2 separate regions of the Homo sapiens genome follow, and region 2 is linked to region 1. Evidence: promoter capture Hi-C in human tissues and cell types (Jung and others, 2019). All regions are on one chromosome and are shown on one strand. Each heading gives the region's core, a stretch centred on a gene start or on the middle of the fragment in contact. The rest is flanking DNA. Distances are from core to core; before and after follow the strand shown. Region 1 holds the start of ZNF12 (zinc finger protein 12). Region 2 overlaps C1GALT1 (core 1 synthase, glycoprotein-N-acetylgalactosamine 3-beta-galactosyltransferase 1).

Region 1 (2,732 bases), core at 3-2,502:
TGGTTCAAAAGAGAATCTGAGGGCTGGACATGGTGGCTCATGCCTGTAATCCCAGCACTTTGGGAGGCTGAGGCGGGTGGATCACTTGAGGTCAGGAGTTTAAGACCAGCCTGGCCAACATGGTGAAACCCCCATCTCTACTAAAAATTCAAAAATTAGTCGGGCTTGGTGGTGTGCACCTGTAATCCCAGTTACTTGGGAGGCTGAGGCAGGAGAATTCCTTGAACCAGTGAGCCAAGATCTCGCCACTGAACTCCAGCATGCACAGCAGAGTGAGACCCTGTCTCAAAATTAAAAAAAAAAAGAGAGAGAGAGAGAGAATCTGAGAAACAGACATATTTTCAGATCAGGAATATTGAAATGATTATGTAAATGGAGAAATGCAGTCAAAACTGCATTTTCTCTAGTGGGGATTGTGGGAAGTCAACCAACTTCCACCAGACAGAACATAACTTGCATCGATTACCTACAGTTTTCAAAGAGGTGTAAAATACCTCAAAGATAAGGAACAGGGTTGGAATCAAGTAACATGGCTTTCTAAATGTGCTTCGTTTTCCATTAAGACGCAAATTTCTTCTTCTGCTTGCCTCATCCTCTTCAGGAAGTAGAGTTCTGGCTAATTTTTTTCTTCTTTCAATTCTGTACATATTCTCTGAGTTTTCTAGCTATCACTAATTCAAAGTGATTTGGAAAAGCTGGAATTCTTTTTCTCCTTGTTGGGGCGAGGATGGTATCCTGTCCCAGGCTAATCCTCTATTATTTCATCCATGGGCTCTATTTACTGAAGTTTTCGTTAAATGTGTCATTGTGATCATAAGCTAGCATGATGCACCCTCTTGTTCCATTTGTCACGGTTGCACATGGACATTGATTTTAAGCCTTGAGCTCTCCGGTAAGGCAGGACTGGCCCAGGCATGGTCTACGAGATGCTACAGGAAGCAGAGACTTTCTAGACGTTCCCTTAAAGATAGTCAAGACATCCCCATGAAGACGTTCCCTTAAACTAAGGAGAAATTTGAGTCTGGGGTTCGGCGTTGCCAATTCTCTTAGCATAGAGCCTCTTAACCGCTAGACCAGATAGAGACATTTCAAATGGCTCCTAAATTTGGGGAGCGCGTAGGCTCATGGGAAATAGAGTCACGGTATTTGTCCTGGGACCGGCGGCGGGTCCCGGGAGGCGGACTTCCGGTGCATTCCTGCGCATGTGCACCCCTCTCTGTGTGCGTGTTCGCGCATGCGCGCCGCGGCCGCAGTGCCCTCGCTTCCTGTGCGTCCCCAGGTCACCGCTCGCCCTAGTTCCCAGGCTTTGGCCTCCGGTGGGCGAGAATCGCGGAGCCTGCGGGGCTGGGCGCCGAAGAGCCGGGCCGGCACCCAAGCGGGCGCGGGGCTGTGCGGGCCAGGCGGAGGCTCAAGCGGGGATCCCCGAGCACGACCCCCGGAGCCGACGGCGCTGGGGCCCAAGGGGCCGGCCGGGCGGTGACGACGGCGGAGGCGAAGGGGCGGCGGGACCCGGGCCCGGCCCGTGTGCGTCCTCGACGGCCCGGCCCCGGCTCCGCAGGACGGTGAGCCCCAGGGAGACGGATCTGGGCTCCGGGAGGGACGCCCCGCCTGGATTTGTCCCGTAGGCCCGGCCCGGGCCCCTCTGGAGCAGAACGGCCTTGGTGAGGTGGACAGGAAGGGACCTCGCGAGCAGACGCGCGCCCGCGACAGCAATCCCGCCCCGGCCTGTCGGGAGCGGTGGGGCAGAGGCTGCGGAGCCCCAGGAGGGTAAGTCGTGGGTTTGCGGGCCCGGGGCGAGAAGGGCCTGGGTGAAGTCACCGCGTGTAGGGCACCTTAGAGTGAGGGACAGTGGAAGGTCTCGATCGCTTGCAGGAGTGACGTGTGTTTGGGTTTGAAGGCAGGGTCCGGCGAGGACGAGGCTTACGGGGGCGTGGGGGGTGTCACCAGCCTCAGCTGCGGACGTTGTCTCCACTCCCCCCTCACCCCAGCAGCCCTTCCTCCTCTCTCTGCTCCAGATTGCTACCGTATCTAAACGTCCGTCAGCACCTCTGTTCTCTCATTTAAGTGCTGATTCCCCCTTAGGTCTGCTCTTGTGGAATCATACGTTGTAGTGCAGGAACAGCCTGCAGGAACTATCTCTTGCTGCCTCATTTGCTAGGGGAAGGGCCTTAGCAGGTGGGTGACTTGTCCGAGGTTTTGTGGGTGGAGTTGCTCATAGTAGAACTCTGGAGTTTTATCTCCCAGGCCAGTGTTCTGTCCCCCGTATCCTAGTTAAGTGAGCGTAAGTTCTTCAATAAAAGATCCTTTTGAGTAGCACACTGAAGTTTCTGCAAATAAAGACTCAATTATGCCGACTGTATTCCTTTATTTAGGGCATCCTGTGGATTTTCTGATCTTTATTTAAAAGAGTAAGAAAATAGATGAGTATTACAGAATTCATTTTTTGTTGTTTGTTTTTTGTTTGTTTGTTTGTTTGTTTTTGAGACAAGTTTCGCTTTGTTGCCCAGGCTGGAGTGCAATGGTGCCATCCCAGCTCACTGCAACCTCCGCCTCCCGGGTTCAAGCGATTCTCCTGCCTCAGCCTCCCGAGTAGCTGGGGTTACAGGCGCCCGCCACCACGCCCAGCTAATTTTTGTATTTTTACTAGACATGGGGTTTCACCATGTTGGCCAGGCTGGTCACCAGAATTCCTTTTTAAATCTTGCATTTAATGATGGCAGATTATTTCAGTA
Region 2 (2,700 bases), core at 133-2,632, 480 kb before region 1:
TATTTATGCTGAACAAACTCTCAGTCTGTTTAAAAAAATGCATTTGTTAATACTAAAGACAATGTGCTGAGAAACTGTTCTCTACATCAGACTGTCAGAAACTATGTTATTTGAAATTTTATAAAGTGAGAATGGAACATCCCACTCTCGCACTGATGGTAGATCATTATGAAACAGAAGCAACCTCACTTTGCAACTCAGAGCTTCAGATAAGGGGTTTCCAGACACAACATTCCACATGTATCGCGATTTTGTAGTCTCCAGGGAATCAGAATCCTGAGTCAGCTTCTCAGCCCAGGCCTGATGTTTATTAACCCTTGACACACAGTCTTGCCGTGCTTTAAGCTTATCAAATATTGTTGCGTTTAAACTTTATCCAAACTCCACCATTCTCCAAAATCCTATAATAACCCTGGTTCCTTCTTTAGAAATGCTGACATTTCCTCTGCTGTGCAAGTCTCCTTCACTGCAGCAAGCTAATTAACCTTTGTCAGCCTACAGATGTGTCCCTGGTGGTCTCTACCAGATGAATCTTATAAAGGGACTTCATCAGGTTGAAATAAAGACTCTATGGAAAACAAAAATTCATGTGGAAATTTAATACATAATAAACAGCATTTCAAATCAAGAAAAAGGTGGCTTATTGAAGAAATGGTATTGAATTAATTAATCTTTTGGGGAAAAAAAAACAAAACCAGCTGGATCCTTACTTTCTAGTAACAATTTCAAATGTTTCTAAGATTTCAGTATTTTAGAAAATGGAATTAAAACAAAACTGGAAGAAAATATATTTTTGCATTTTGATATTACGAATTGAGATCTCTCCCACACTCAGAAGCTGTGACTATTAAAACACTATGAGTTTATTCATTGGATAAACTTCTGGCAATGAAGTCGCTGGTTAAAGGGCATATTTCTTTATGAAATATATTTTTTTAATGTACAGCAAAAAGAACCAAAAAGTATCATAAATAATAAAAAAGATAGTTAACCAAATACAAAAACAGATAAAGAAAATAAAAGATTCACAGTAAAAAATGGTCAACGATGTTCAAATTTCACTCACAAAGGTAAATCAAATGAAGAGATATTATTTTTAACCTAACATATTGGCAAAACTTTTAAAGTTTATTAACAGCTGTTATTGACACAGATACAAGAAAACTGGTAGTCCTGTATTCTTTCTCATAATACATACTTTTACTGTCTTTTGGAAGGGCATTTCACAACATCTTTTTAAATTTTTAACTAATTATGCCTTGATATATCACTTCATGATCAGAAACTTATTTTACAGATATAATCATAGAAGTCAGCCAAGATGCTCGACAGCCATAACCATAAGACGTCTGTCTGTTGATGAGGAACCAGTTTTTTAAAAAAAAGATAGAGCCATAGCATAGAATAGTAGTAGCTGTTAAAAACAATGATCTACATGTGCTGATAGGGAAAATCTTTGTGCTTTTGACAAAGGTTACTTTTTATTGTTAATAAGGTATACTGGGTATTTTTTTAAACATCAGAAAATGTAAAGAAAACAAAAGGAACAAACCTAAACAAATGAAAGAAAATCATAGACAGAAAAGAGTAAATTTTCTTTACCATCTCTACCACTATCTCTCCCCAAAAGTAACTGCTTTCGTATCGTTGGGTAATGCCTATATCATCACATATGTATGTTCAGCTTTTAATTTACATCAGAGATCATGCTTATCGGTTAGTCTGCACTTTAATTTACCCCTTCACTTATTTTATCCATAACACAATGTCATTCATTTTAACAACTGTATAAGATAAAAGGTTTATTTTTTAAGACAATGTACCGAAATATTTTCTAGTATGATTTCACTTGGCTTTTTAAATGTTTCTGTATATATTTTAAAATCTGTTAAGATATATATACATATGATATTTAACAAGAGCTATCTCTGGGAACTAGCACTGGGTGGCATGAGCAAGGAAGGACAAATTTTTTTTTATTTTATAACCTTTTGATGTTTTAATTTTGCATCGGGTACACACATTACTTTTCTGATAAAAATTAAATAAAGGGAGGCAATTTTTATCTACAGAGTGAAATAATATGATAAAAATTAAAGTCCACTAATTTCTCCACACTTGTCAAACAAAATGATCTCTTGATCCTTTCAGACTTCTCCAAGTTTCAGATTCACATACACAAATGCCTGCTAAATACTTCCACCTGGACCATAGGCATCTCTAATTCAACACCTCCAAAGTGACTCATTACTTTCCTCTGCTCATTTTACCTTAATTACTGGTAATTACCTAAATTATTCACCAATGGGTTCCTATTTCACTCAGAGCCACAGGATTATCTAAACTACAAAGTACACAGATATTCTTAATGCTTCCCTTATCTTCACCCCAAATCCAATTACCAAGTCTTGCCAACATTACTTCCTAAATATTATTCTAATCCATTGTCTCCTCTCCATTTCTAGTATTTATCCTATTTCAGACTCTCCTCTCTCCCCACAGGCTATTACAATATCTAACCTCTCTGACTCAAGTGCTATCCCTCTTTAACTCATACCCCGTCACCAGAATGAGCTCTCTAAAATGAAAAGCTGACCATGTCACCCCATGAATCCTTTCACGGAACTCCACTGCCTACAAGACAAAAACTAAACATTTTTTATTAACATGATATATAAATAAAGGCTATGACCTAGAGCC

The links. The method cuts DNA at HindIII sites, captures the fragments that hold promoters and counts their contacts. A contact is called where the count stands out against the background at its distance.
Region 2: a fragment that was not itself captured here is called in contact with the fragment with the promoter of ZNF12 in region 1 in 1 of the 25 tissues and cell types used here (dorsolateral prefrontal cortex).

What each region holds. Positions count from the first base shown.
Region 1 is chr7:6,705,467-6,708,198 of GRCh38, reverse strand. It overlaps ZNF12 (zinc finger protein 12), which reads left to right and starts at 1,252. Exons shown (of 5, transcript NM_016265.4): 1 at 1,252-1,767. RefSeq lists an enhancer at 1,084-1,583 and a silencer at 1,277-1,636. The HindIII fragment of the contact is 19,528 bases long and covers 1-2,732 here.
Region 2 is chr7:7,187,870-7,190,569 of GRCh38, reverse strand. The region is part of intron 1 of C1GALT1 (core 1 synthase, glycoprotein-N-acetylgalactosamine 3-beta-galactosyltransferase 1); the gene reads right to left. Among named protein-coding and RNA genes, the nearest start is that of C1GALT1, 6.7 kb to the right of the region's middle. The HindIII fragment of the contact is 8,882 bases long and covers 1-2,700 here.